Regions from separate parts of the Homo sapiens genome. Here regions 2 and 3 are each linked to region 1. The links are contacts of gene promoters, found by promoter capture Hi-C in blood cells and fetal thymus (Javierre and others, 2016). All regions are on one chromosome and are shown on one strand. Each heading gives the region's core, a stretch centred on a gene start or on the middle of the fragment in contact. The rest is flanking DNA. Distances are from core to core; before and after follow the strand shown.

What was found. The method cuts DNA at HindIII sites, captures the fragments that hold promoters and counts their contacts. A CHiCAGO score of 5 or more calls a contact.
Region 2: a fragment that was not itself captured here is called in contact with the fragment with the promoter of RWDD2B in region 1 in 1 of 17 cell types (monocytes); the score reaches 5.5 in monocytes.
Region 3: a fragment that was not itself captured here is called in contact with the fragment with the promoter of RWDD2B in region 1 in 1 of 17 cell types (M1 macrophages); the score reaches 5.2 in M1 macrophages.

The regions. Positions count from the first base shown.
Region 1 is chr21:29,017,873-29,022,471 of GRCh38, reverse strand. It overlaps RWDD2B (RWD domain containing 2B), which reads left to right and starts at 3,123. Exons shown (of 5, transcript NM_016940.3): 1 at 3,123-3,261. The coding sequence starts at 3,195. LOC124905005 (a long non-coding RNA gene) reads right to left here. Exons shown (of 2, transcript XR_007067836.1): 1 at 4,225-4,599; 2 at 1,144-3,559. RefSeq lists an enhancer at 3,033-3,282. The HindIII fragment of the contact is 4,408 bases long and covers 1-4,168 here.
Region 2 is chr21:29,637,630-29,642,224 of GRCh38, reverse strand. All of the region lies in intron 7 of GRIK1 (glutamate ionotropic receptor kainate type subunit 1), which reads left to right. Among named protein-coding and RNA genes, the nearest start is that of GRIK1-AS3, 17 kb to the left of the region's middle. RefSeq lists an enhancer at 2,314-2,393. The HindIII fragment of the contact is 309 bases long and covers 2,255-2,563 here.
Region 3 is chr21:28,134,746-28,139,832 of GRCh38, reverse strand. LINC01697 (long intergenic non-protein coding RNA 1697) reads right to left here. Exons shown (of 5, transcript NR_126010.1): 4 at 4,125-4,519; 5 at 2,224-3,143. The region is part of intron 5 of LINC01695 (long intergenic non-protein coding RNA 1695); the gene reads left to right. Among named protein-coding and RNA genes, the nearest start is that of LINC01697, 89 kb to the right of the region's middle. The HindIII fragment of the contact is 2,180 bases long and covers 408-2,587 here.

The DNA of each region.
Region 1 (4,599 bases), core at 1,874-4,373:
TGCTCAAGTGATCCTCATGCCTCAGCCTCGCGTAGCTGGTACTGCAAGTGTGTGCCACCTCATCAGCTAACTTTTTTTTTTTTTTTTTGAAGTCACCGTGTCTCTACAAAAGCCTGCTGCCCAGGCTGGTCTCAAACTCCTGACCTCAAGCGATACTCCAGCCTCAGCCTCCCAAAGCACTAGGATTCCAGGTGTGAGTCACCACACCCAGCTTCTATACATGCCTTAAAAGTCACTTCCTTCCAGTTACAGGGCAATCTAAGTAACACAGTCATCTGATCACTCACATCACCTTACTTTACTTCTCTGCCCAGCAGTTTATCCACTATCTGGTAATTTTCTTTCTTTTTTTTTTTTTTTTGAGACAGAGTCTCACTCTGTTGCCCAGGCTGGAGTGCAGTGGTGCAGTTACAGCTCACTGCAGCCTCAACTTCCCAGGCTCAGGCAATTCTCCTACCTCAGCCTCCTGAGTAGCTGGGACTACAGGCCTACAGGCACACGCCCCCACACCTGGCTAATTTTTGTGTTTTTTGTAGAGTTAGGGGTCTCTGTTGCCCAAGCTGGTCTCAAACCCTGGGCTCAAGTGATCCTCCTTGGTCTCCCAAAGTGCTGGGATTATAGGCATGAGCTATCATACCCAGCCATAATTTTTTTTTTTTTTCTTTTTTTTGAGACGCAGTTTTGCTCTTGTTGCCCAGACTGGAGTGCAATGGCGTGATCTCGGCTCACCACAACCTCCGCCTCCCAGGTTCAAGCAATTCTCCTGCCTCAGCCTCCCCAGTAGCTAGGATTACAGGCATGCACCACCATGTCCAGCTAATTTTTGTATTTTTAGTAGAGACGGGGTTTCTTCATGTTGGTCAGGCTGGTTTTGAATTCCCAACCTCAGGTAATCTGCCCGCCTTGGCCTCCCAAAGTGCTGGGATTACAGGCATGAGCCACTGTGCCCGGCCCATAATTTTCTTTTATTTTTACCTTTATGTTTAGCCCTCTTCATACATACACAGAAATGTGCAAATATAAGCTCTTTGAGAGATGCGACATCTTTGTCTTGTTCATGGCTATAATTAGTACCTGGAAATGCCTGGAATATAGTAAGTGCTCGATAAATATTTATTGAAAAGAAAGTCATGAGCAATAAAATGCTATATAAGAACGTTCACAGCAGCTTTATTTATAATAGCCAAAAAACTGAAGACAGCCCAGGTTTCTATCAAAACAAGAATGGAACTGGTATATTCATATGATGGAATACTACTGAGCAATCAAAAGAAAGTGATACACATGATATCAGATGAAAATATTACCCTGAGTGAAAGAACCCTTACACAAAAATATCTATTGCATGACTCCAACCATATGACGTTCTATAACAAGAAAAATAAGTATGGTGGGGGAAAAAATCAGAACAGTGGTTACCTTTGGGGAGAACTGGTTGGGAACTAAGAAAGGGCATGAAAGAACTTTCTAGGGTGATGGTAACGTTCTATATGTTAATATGGCTTGAGTTCCATAGGCGTGTGCATTTAAAAACTGATGTGTATTTAAGGTATGCATTTCATTTTTACCTTAAAAAATCCTTAATTTGAACTCCAATGATGTGCATTAGAGGTACTTAGAAGCGTACTGTCTGCAGTTTACTTTTAAATGTATGAAAACAGATAGATTGATGAGGTATGTGACAAAGCTGGTAGAGTAAAATTCTGTACTCTCCAGGTCAGTGTTTTTCAACCTCAACACTATCAACATTTTGGACCAGCAAATTTGTTGTTGTCGGGGGATGTCCTGTTCATTGTAGGAAGTTGAGGAACATCCCTGTGCTCTACCTACCCCATGCCAATACCATCCTTCCAGTTGTGACAACCCAAAATGTCTTCAGACACTGCTAAATAGAGGGGAAATCCATCCTTCCCCTTCTCTTGAGGTCTGCTCCACTGTAAAATTCTCTCGACTTCGCTTTACACTTGAATTTTTTCATAATAAATGTTGGAGGAAAAAATAAATTATGACATTGAAAAACGCTCATGAAACACTATGCAGAAGACGTAGTTTATGAAGACCTACAATACATACTGTCGTATTTTTGTTTAAAAAAAAAAAGTGGAGGGGAGACCTAGCAGTGATATTTAGTATTGCTAAATGTCAATGTTTACAAATCTTATCTATGACATTTCTAAAATGAATATTATAAAGTGTATTGCATATAGTTGGATTGGGAAGAAAAACATTTCTAATTATTCTCCTGTCAGCATCTCCTTCAAACTACCCTTTTATTAACAGGGATAGATATGCATTCACACGGTTCCTCCCAGCTTGGTTAATGGGCAAGAACACCTAAGATAGCCAAGGCCACCATGCATCCAGGCTCACATCTCCCTAATTGCCCTCCTCCATGATTCAGGGACAAGGAGGATCACCATCGTGTGGGAAGATACTAGAAATGTAGAATTTGGAACCCCACCCCTACCTACGGAATCCTGATCTGCACTTCAACAGGATCCCCGAACTATTCCTAGGCGCGTTCGAATTTGAGGAACATTAACGGACCAATTCTTTGTCCCTGAAAAGTGCCCGTTATAGAGGCGGCCGCTGGGAAATGACAACGGGGTTGGCATGGAGAGGTATTAAGTAGAAAAACTCCGGCCGGGCACGGTGGCTCAGGCCTGTAATCCCAGCACTGTGGGAGGCCGAGGCCGGTGGATCACCTGAGGTCAGGAGTTCGAGACCAGCCTGGCCAACATGGTGAAACCCCATTTCTACTGAAAAATACAAAAATTATCTGGGCATGGTGGTGGGCGCCTGTAATCCCAGCTACTCGGGAGGCTGAGGCAGGAGAATCGCTTGAACCCAGGAGGCGGAGGCTGCAGTGAGCCGAGATCGCGCCACTGCACTCCAGCTTGAGAGACACAGCGAGACTCCGTCTCAAAAAAAAAAAAAAGGAAGAAAGAAAGAAGAAGAAGAGAACTCTGCGACTGAAAAGTACCTAGCAGGGACAACGCATTCCCTACGTCCTTCCAAGTGCAGACACCAACACCGGCGGACGCGGCTCCCAACAGGCGAGCCCCAGCTTCCGGTCCGCGGCCTTGGACGCGCATGCGCCGCATGCTTTTTTTTTTTTTTTCCGGTAGGTCGCCAGCTGAGGCGGTTTGTAAGTTTTGGGTCGCAGTATGCTAGAATTTTGAGGCTCCCTTCTGATGAAAATTGAGCTGTCCATGCAGCCATGGAACCCGGGTTACAGCAGTGAGGGGGCCACGGCTCAAGGTGAGTCTCGCCTCAGCTAGCGCCAGTGGTGACCGCCACGGGGGTTTCCCACGCTGCAGCGCCCAGTGCAACCCTTTGGGAACGTGCCCGGCATGGCGGCCCCGGTTCCCCTCACTGCATGCGCCCATCGGTCGGCTCGGTCCTCGGCGTTGCTTCCCGGCTTCTGCAGCCCTGCTCCAGCCGGGGACCTCGCCCCGGGGGCAATCAGGGTGCGAGGGCGGCTGCGTGCTGGGCTTTCTTCCTGAGAGCGTCTTGGCTTGGGTCGCGGGGTACCCTGCTCTGTTCTTCAAAAAAAAATCTGCAAGGAAAAGATATTATTCCACTCAGAAATCTCAAGTTTCAGTCTGCGTTCTCTTAAATATATTTTATTTTTTAAAAAAATAATAAAGGCGAGCTCTTACTATGTTACCCAGGCTGATCTTGAACTCCTGGGCTCAAGCAGTCCCCCTTCCTCTGCCTCCCAAAGTGCTGGGATTACAGGCGTGAGCAATCGCGCCCGGCCACAGTCTATTATCTTACAGCATTCGCTGAAATCTTGAATCATAAAATTATCTTGAGGGTTTTTTGGAAGGACTGAAATCTCTTAAGCGAAAATAATTTGGCAGATAAATGACCTGTGACATCACTCCCGTAGTTGTCCGTTCAAGAGTCCCTCCGTCCCGTTCTTCTTTGCTAATCCCATTTCATCTTCGATACCTCCAATTCAATAGCACCCTCTCCCAACTTTACTCACTCCCTGGGAGACTTTAAACAAATATATAGTTCCAAATAAGTGTTGACTCCCAAGATTATATATCTAGCTGAGTCTCTCGTAGACTTCAAAACTATACATCTAACTGCCTGCTAGACCTCTCTATTTAACAGGTGTCTTAGTAGGCACTTCATTACTTGTGTCTAAAACCAAGCTTCAGCTCCCCATGACCATCAACGTCTAAATAAATGGCAGATCCATACTTTCAGTACCTTAAAGCCCCGGAGTCATTCTTCCGTGTCTCATGTAATTCATCTGTAAATCCTGTTGCCTCTGTTCTCTGCATGTATCCAGAACCTGAAGCTCACCAACTTGACCACTATAATCCTATCAAAGCCACCATCATCTCTCCCTAGTTATTGCGGTGTCTATATCTGGTCACCCCACTTTTCCTTTCACTTTTCTCCATAGCAGCAAGTGTGGGGATCTTCATAAGTCAAACCTCTCTTGTAGCTCTTACATGTCAGTCGGGATAAAATTCAAAATTCTGGCCATGCTTTACTAGTCCCAACATAAACTGCCCCACATTTCCTTACTAAACTCTTCTATTCCCCGTGTCCTCAGCTCACTGTGCTCTGGCCAGCTGT
Region 2 (4,595 bases), core at 1,160-3,659, 620 kb before region 1:
TTCTTTTCTCTGAGGCAGTTTGACTCCTTGTCACAAGGCCCTGTTCTAAGCCCCGTGACTCCTTATCGATATGTACACTGCATGATCATCCATTCCACCACGAACCTCAGGGTGTGTCTGGACTTGATGATAAGAAATAAGGCTCTTTGGAGTAGCTAGGCCTGAGTATGCGCAATGCTCTGAGATGCTATTCTAATATTTCTCTATGGGATACAGACATTTAGTTCTCAAGTGAAGAGTATTTTTTTCCTTTCTGTACTGGAGAAGGATGGAAATATAGTGTAAAGAAGAGGGAGGGCACAGGAGAATACCCAGCTAAGAGTAAGGAAAGACACCTGCTTTGGACTCGTGTCTCTGCTGGTCTCTTCCATGCCTGCACACCCTCTCTCAGTCTGTTCAATGCAACTAAAGGCTGACTCTGATCCATGAGGGTGAGGATAAAGCAGGCGGGATGTATAAGGATTAAGTACCTAGGCTACAAATCTAGGTTGCTTGCAAGCCCAGGATGAGGGTGCAATTTAAGGAAACATTCATTCTTGGGTGAGTATTCTATACTTGCACAAGATTAAGAGGAAATTCTCGCTTAAATTTTGTACCCTGAGCACCTCTCTTACTTTATCCTAGTCCTGGCAGTGACTGCATGGGTTTAAATCTTAGTTCCACTAACACTGATGAGCAATATAACCTGGGCAAGTCTATTGGTCCATTTTCATGCTGCTGATAAAGACATACCTGAGACTGGGTAATTTATAAAGAAAAAGAGGTTTAATGGACTCACAGTTCCACGTGGCTGAGGAGGCCTCACAATCATGGCGGAAAGTGAAAGGCATGTCTACATGGTGGCAGGCAAGAGAAAACTTGTGCAGGGAAAATCCCATTTATAAAACCATCAGATTTCATGAGACTTATTCGCTATCACGAGAACAGCATGGGAAGACTTGCCTCCATGATTCAATTACCTGCTACTGGGTCCCTCCCACAACACATGGGAATTGTGGGAGCTACAATTCGAGATGAGATTTGGGTGGGGACACACCAAAACCATATCAGCAAGTTACTTACACTTCTTGTCTCTCAGTTTTCTTATCTATAAGATGGGTATAGTATCATCTACCCCACAGCATGACTGTAAGGATAAAGAATTAGGCAAATGCTTGTGAAGAATAGTTCAGAAACCTAGTAAGCATCTGAAATACTATTCTCTTGCCATTGGAAGGCACCACTAAGAATAGCCTCATTCAGTTTACTGAAGATGATACCAGGAATTTCAAACTGGCAACAACAACAACAACAACAAAGACATCACAAATAGGCATGAAACAAAATACCTTTTCTGACAGCTACATAACTCTGACACACTGTGCCTAATAGAAAAACATCACACCACCTCCTTTTCCCTGCAGTGATCATGGTTGTGTCCTGAATCGCCATCCTGATTACCTTGATCTTTAACAAGAAAACAGCTGGTTTTCTTTTATCTCCTAGAAGTTCAAGGAGAGGCAGAAGTGACATGAAAGCTTGGGATCAAACACTCAAGAGCCCCCAAGACACCTTATCACTTGTACTTAAGTCGCATAAGAAGGTGAAATTACCAAGCCACATTTAGGCATATTTAAAGAAATAATGAGCTCCAAGATGAGGGACCACACTGAAAATAAGAAGGCATTTTATATTCATTCACTCCAAAGAAGCAAATCTCTCATTTTTAATCTCCACAGTTAGGGGTTACAGGAAGGGAGGGGGGAATGAATCAGAAACCATTGTCAACATTGTGCTCATCCTCTTTTGTCTCCTGAGTCAGGATGTCATATGCTACCTTTGGCAGGGTGTAGGTACCTACAGAGAAGATGGAATGGGGTAACCAGAAGCAATGCCTCAGCCTGCTGGAGGACTGGCACTGAGGAAATTCTGAGACAACCTAAAACATGCAAAAGAGAAAGTGCACGTGTTTTTTCAGATGAGTGCATAACTGAACAAAATTTTGCAAGTATCAGGTTTCATTAGGAAACATGAAATAAGGAACTTGGTCCCCAAATTTCCCCCGCTGCTTCTTTTTTTTTTTTAAGTTATTCTCACTTTGTAAAGAAGTTCCAAAACTAGAGTCAGAAAAAAAAAAATGAAAAGAAGCAAGTCAGCAGATTGAATTTATGGGGTGAAGACCAAATTCATCACAGGAGGTAAACTTCCTGAGCAGAGGTTGTTGCATGTGCGGTAATTTCTGATAACTCCACACACTGTTGGGAATCAGTAAGCTTTTCAGACACATGTTTCCAGCTCACTGCCTTTCAGTGTATGGGGCTGACTAGATAAAGGGGAAGAGTTAAAGAACATATGAAACATGATAGAGTATGTTACTATGTTAGCTCTCCGAGCATTTGCTAAACAAATGCATGCTAGGAGATTATACATTCCCACTCAACAAGCATTACTGGAACTCCACTACATAAGTAATATTAACTTGGCATCTTAAGGGATAACACCCTTGAAAAGTAGAAGAGGTGGCTTCTGCCACCTAGTAATGTAAATTCTACATGGCAGAGGATTGACACGCTTCATTAAAGCTTTTTCTTATACCTCAGGATAAAACATACACTCTTCAGCAGGATATACAGGCTCATGATCTTGTTCCTGATCCCTTTGCCAGCTCTCTCATCTCCTGCTCCATCTGCAGCACCTGCTGAACCTACTGTGGCTCCCTTGAATATGCAATATGCTCCTACCAAATTATTTTAACTCTGATTGCAATGCCGTGCTCCTCTGGGTCATGCTTTACGTCTCAACTCAAGCACTAGCTCCTATCTGCAGGACCCTGACTCACAGATGTAGGCTTTGTACCTCCATTACAACTGTGGGTATGCTATTGTGTTTGTTTCCACGTCTATCTCCAAGCTATGCGTTTTCAGTCTCAATTCCCTAGTTCTTGCACAATGCTGGACATAGAATAAGCACCCAATAAATACATGCCAAACAAGTGAATGAATTGATGAATGAATTAATGAATGAATTAGCAAAGGAACCGAAGAACACACACAATCTATAAGCATGTGCAGTGCTTCAGGACACACTGTGTTCATAAAAATCATATCCAGAAACAATTCAATAAGACAGAGTCAGGAGCTGGACTAGACCTGTCCACCAGGGCCATAGGTTTCGATAGGAGAGTGAGGCAGGGATTTAGGGAAAGACCAACCTATTTAACTCTGGTGCTGGGAACACAGATTCTGAGATTTCATCACACTTTGCTGTCAGTGTGAACTTAGTCAAGTCATTTAGCTTGTTTCTCAGTTCCTCCTTCTATAACATGGGTAATAAAATGCCCACACCATAAGTTTGTAGGGATTACATATTTTATATGTATAGCCTAGCAAAATATTTGTCATGTAGTGATTGTTTAATGAAGGATAGCTACCATCAAATGAAAGGTTCTGTTAAAAAATGAAAAACAGTTTTCCATTTTCAAGAAAAGGAAGTCTATTGGAGTAAGATTGCAGTTAGATTAACACCTTTTCTTGAAATGAACTTACAGAAAAAATGTACATGTATAATTCAGTCCACTGTATCCTCCTTTGAACTAGTTTTACCTGCTTGTTTTCTCATGCATAAATATTTATGTTTCTTTGACATATTTATGTGAGGATTATGTTTTTAATATTCTAACATCACAAAGTAGCCTTTTGTTTCTGTATTGCACTTTACGGGTAATTGTTATTTTGCCACCTCTTTGTACAACTGATATGGTTTGGCTTTGTGTCCCCACTCAAATCTCATCTCGAATTCATATCCTCACGTGTGGAGTGGGGTACCCATAATCTCCAAGTGTTGAAGGAGGGAGGTGATTGGATCATGGGGGCGTTTCCCCCATGCTGTTCTTGTGATAGTGACTGAGTTCTCAAGAGATCTGACGGTTTTAGAAGGGGCTCTTCCCCTTTCGCTTTCTCCTCTCTCTCCTGCTGCCATGTAAGACATACCTACTTCCCCTTCCGCCATGATTGTAAGTTTCCTGAGGCCTCCCCAGCCATGCAGAACTGTGAGTGAGTCAATTAAACCTCTTTCCTTTATTTAAAAAAAAAATGTCTACCATGTAAGGTAGTGGTCAGGAAAAATAAGGCAACACCTAGGAAACATTAAGTATATTGCCAAACATATTATAAGCACTGCATGTTTCTTATTACTGTTATTGGTGTCATCATTATTATTATTGGAGTCATCATTATTATTATTGGAGTCTAGGATAAAGTAGCAGTTGTTTGCAAAATGGAAGACAGTACCTAGTGGTGGAAAACCGAAAGTTCCATGGAGACAGGCATGCAGCATGCAGTAGGCCAACTGCAACGAAGCCAGGAAATGAGGACTTTCAATCATAGACCACACACATGATTGTTCAAGAAAGGTGAAAAGACATTAGGCAAAAATTCACCTCAACCAAGGCTGAGTTTCTTGGTTCGTTTGGGCTGCTGTGACAAAATACCATAAACCAGGTGTCAAATAACAGCAGAAACTTACTAGTCATAGTTCTGCAGGCTGGGAAGTCCACTATCAAGGTGCTAGCAGAATCCGTTGTCTGGTGAAGGCTGGCTTCCTAGTTCATAGACAGC
Region 3 (5,087 bases), core at 248-2,747, 880 kb after region 1:
GTCCCAAGCCATTTCTAGATTCTGCTAGAGAAATTAGGTTCCTAGATCCAAGACTAATACGATGTTGCTTTTAGCTTTTCCTTCTAAACCTGTGGCTTCCTCCTCTGAGTCCTTTCATGTATATGAAAAGTGGCAGATCTTTGCAACTGAGTAGCTGTGTAAGCTTCTTTCCTGCCAGAATTTTGGAGGTTTAATAGTCTTCTTTAATTTCGTATTTTCTCTGTTCCTTTCAATACAGACTGACAGTGTTTCTCCTGATATAAAATTCTCAAGAACCAAGTGGGTCTCCCATGTATGCCACAGGGGTTCACTCCATAATATGAGACTCTTTCAGAGATCTTTCTTAGATAATCAGTCTTCTATTTTTGCCTTCTGCTGAGATATGTGAGGGACAGTAACCTTAAGCTTCCTCGATGCTCTTTGGTTTGATTGAGGAAATCTAATCTCTTCAAAGAGCCCTTTATATTTGAGTACTTTTGATCTTTTTGAGGCATTAGCAAATTGCTGAGGTATAAAAACAGAAGGTTACTACAGCCGTGTCCTAGGCTTTTTCTTTAGATTATCTATCCCTGTTACTGAGTTTCTTTATTTTAATATCTTTTGCAGTCTGAATAAACTGAGAATTTCCAAAATCATTATGTCTTGGTTTCTTTTTGTTTAAACGGTTCTTTTCTCAAATTATCTCTTTCTCATTGCATTTTGCTATGAGAAGAAACAAGAAGCCAGGCGGCTTCTTCAACCCTTTGCTTGGAAATATCCTTACTTACGTATTCAATTTCATCATTTACAAGTTCTATTTTTCACCTGAACGTAGGACAACTTTGCTAAGTTTCTACCGCTATATAATATGGAAATTCTTTCTTCAAATTTTTAATGTGTTTTTTATTTCCTTCTAAGCCTTCACCAATAGTACTTTTTATGTCCCTATTTTTACTAAGTCTGTTCATGCTGATTCATGTATGCTCTAACGCAGTCTATGCCTTCTCTACCATGCTCTTCTCTTCACTTTCTTCTAAGTCCTTTCTAGCAGAATCATTAACAACCACATTTCTACTAACAATGTGTTCAAAACAATGTAAGTTTTTCTCGGATGACCTTCAACATTCTCTTAGCCTCACTCACTGCCGAATTCCAAAGCCACTTTGACATTTTATAGATATTTGTTACAGCAGTATATAACTCTCAGACATCAAAATTTGTATGAGTTTCCTAATGTCGCCATAACAAATTACCACACATGCATGCAGTGACTTTAAAAACACAAGCAGCTGGCAATACACTCTTCCTAGCAATGCTTCCTAAACAGAATGGACAGTATTCCCTCAAGTTTCAGCTGAAGTCCACCTGCTCCAAGGGACAGAAGCAACAGTGATTTTCTCTTCTGTCCACATTATGCTCATTAACTGCATGACTCAGTGCTATTTACCATGGGTTCTGCTGTATCGCTAGTTATTTATCTTCATAATATGTGAAGTTATCTAAAGAATACAATTAGATAGTTGAGGACAGGAACTTCTGGCATTCCTAGAATTTATGAGTGTTTTTATATGGTAGCCAGTCTGAATCCATTTGTGATGATGATGAAAAACACAACAGATAGCTGGATAGTTAATGTAGGAAACTTTGCTTTATGAAATAAAATTTTGAGAAAGCTAAATATATTTTCCTAACATTGAATCGCTTACGTGTGTTTTATGTAACAACTTATTAATCTCTAATTTTTAATAAGTACAGCTATTATTTATAAAATATTTTAGCTTATAAATAATTTTAACACACTATATCATTTGATCTCAAACATGTAAAAATACTTATTACACAAAGGAGGAACATAGAGTTACCACTTGATTTCAGTTGTGTTTGCTGACTGACGTAGGGTCAAAGAATACATTAGTAGCACTACTGAAACATAACTCTATGGTATATGATTCTAAAACCTGTGTTTTTCCCACTATGCTATATGTACATTCTTATTTCATGAATTTAGACTACATTTAATAACTGACACACGTACTATTTGTTCAACAACAGTTAAGTTCTTAAGAAGTAATGATGGTGCAAAAAGAAAATTTTAATCTTGCCTAATTCTTAATGTAATCAGTAAAAATATAATAATATTGTATCTGACAGAGAGGGCAATTATTCAAATTTTAAAAGACATTCACATCATGAGTAGTTGAGATAAATAACTATCCTGAAAAACCACTGACCATAATGAGTTATTGTTAGCAAGATTTATATTGTACTTTTGAAGTTCTTCTAGAGGCACACAATCAACCATAGGTTTTATCTAACAATAGTAAAAGTAATCCCAAAACATAAAAAGTAGTTGCTGTATTGAAAAGTATATTATAGGACAATAATTAAATGGATGATAAGGAAACCTTGTTACAGGTGATTCACACCACTTCAAAAACAGCAAAAGAAAAAATTGATATTAACATGTACCAATTATAATGCATTATTATGAAATATTTAAAATGGGGAATCCAAGATGACATAGTTTTTAACTCATCCACATACTGGAAGTTTAGAGAAACTCAGAATTTCTTATTTCTTTTTCTTTTTCCTCCATAGCATAAAAGCTTTGCTAATAAGAATAAATATATATATTGGAGTTTTAGTGTTTGATCCTGTGATCAGTTGTAACCGTGTGTCATAAAACTCTCTCACAGATTCCATCTTTCCCAAATCTTCTGATCATAACACAGATTGCCATATAGACTTCCCTTGTAAGAGAATATGCTGGCCATAAGGCAGCAAAGTGAACTTGCAGTTTCACTTCTTGTAAATTAATGCATTTGCATTGACTTCTATAAAATAATCTCTCCTGAATTTTTTTGCTTAGTCAACTTACTGTGTGCAAGCAACAGAAATTGTCTCTGGTTAACTTTTACAGCACAATTAAAAATTGTATGAAGAAGCATACAAAATTTGTATGAGGCTGAATCAGCCTCATTAAATGGTCAGTGATTAAGGGAATTTATGTAGGACACTTCTTTTGGATTCTTGCTGGCACCACAGGACTGTCGATGCTGTCAGCACTGCTGTGCTGTGCTGTGAATAATTCTTCGTTGCTCATGTTCTCTGTGTTCCCCATTCCAGATTCAAAGTCTTAGGCAGGAACATCTTATTGGCCAAGTCTGTTGGGAGGTAATGGGAGTAAATATCTCAGAAAGAGAAAGTTCGTTTGGATGCTGAGTGGCCAAAAAATGACAATTTTCCATGAAAGTAAGGTCGATCTGACGTAAAGTGGTAACAATCATCAAGTGTCTGGATTTAAAAGGTTGAGGACCAAACATTTTTCTTTCATTTTTTATTTCCATCAAATGACAAGTTCCCAGTGATGGGAGGGATCTTAAATATCATATAGTCTGATACTTCTCCAAGCCTCGATTGGGCAAGAAAAGGGTAGTAACAACAAATGATTTCCCTTTGATAGTCTATTTTATCTATTTATTTTAGGTGAGGGGATGATTCCATTTTGAAAAAAAATTTCTTATGTTAAACTTTTGTTCTTTAATATTACTTTTACCTCTCAGAGCTACAGAGGAAATAGATCCAATTACTCTAAACCTAATCATCCTTTTGAATAAAACTTATGCATGGCTTTCGTATCATTTGTGCAAGTAATAAATCCCAATTTACATAATGTTTTTCCTATGACATGATTTTGACTCCGTATTTCTGCTTCTGCCATTCCTGTATTGCCTTTTTCACACACACACACACACACACACACCCCACCACCACCACCACTACCACCAGCACACACACAACACATGTGCATGCATACCAACATTTGCAATACTAAGATGTGAAAATACCAACTGGAAAAGGTTTGACACGTACACAGTGTGGAAGGGCTAGCACTTTACATTTCTTTTTTTTTTTTTTTTTTGAGCTCTGTCACCCAGGCTGGAGGGCAGTGGTTGGTTTCAGTTCACTGCAGCCTCTGCCACCCAGGCTTAAGCAATCTTCCCACCTCACCCTCCTGAGCAACTGGGACTACAGTCACATGCCACCATGCTTGGCTAATGTATTAGTCAGGATTTTCTAGAGGGACAGAACTAATACAATATGTGTATATATGAAAGGGAGTTTATTAAGGAAAATTGACTCACATGATCATAAAGTCAAGTCCCGTGAGAAGCCATCTGCAAGTTGAGGAGCAAGGAAGCCAGTGGTGGATCAGTCTGAGTCCCAAAACCTCAAAATTAGAGAAGCTGACAGTGTAGCCTTCAGTCTGTGACCAAAGGCTCAAGAGGCCCTGGCACACCACTGGTGTAAGTCCATGAGTCCAAAAGCTGAAGAACGTGGAGTCTGATGTTTGAGGGCCAGAAGAATCCAGCACGGGAGAACGGTGAGGGCCAGAAGACTCAGCAGGTCTGCTCTTTCCAACTTCTGCCTGCTTCATTCTAGCCACACTGGCAGCTGACTAGATGACACCCACCCAGATCGAGGGTAGGTCTGCTTCTCCCAGTCCTCTGACTCAAATAATAATCTCCTTTGGCAACACCTGCACAGACACACCCAGAAACAATACTTTGCATCCTTCAATCCAATCAAGTTGACACTCAATACTAACCATCACAGTTAATTATTTAATTTGTTGCAGAGACAAGTTCTCACTATATTGCCCAGGCCATTTTTGAACTACTAGGCTCAAATGATCATTCCACCTGGGCCTCCCAAAATGCTGGGATTATAGGCATAAACCACCATGCCCAGCCTTAAATTCTATATGTCTATTAATACCTTAACATTATTTAGGTTTTCTTGAAGGCCATATGACACCATTCATTTCTGTTGGGCTTTTCCCCACATATTTTTTAAGGGTTCTCTTCTTGAGTCGTGTCTCTCGTTTCCTGTATTTTATTTTTTTAAATCTCCATTTATGGTGTGGACTGAACCTACAAACTAAATCAGTGGTGTGGTTAAAATTCTAGTCTTGGAAACTGAACCTGCAATCTAGCTTGGAGGCATTCTTTCCCCAAATACTGTCACCTAAAAATATGTTAAGAAAATTGTCCATGTCTTTATTAGCTCTTGATTTAAAAAAAACTGAACAGGACAAGTTCAATTAT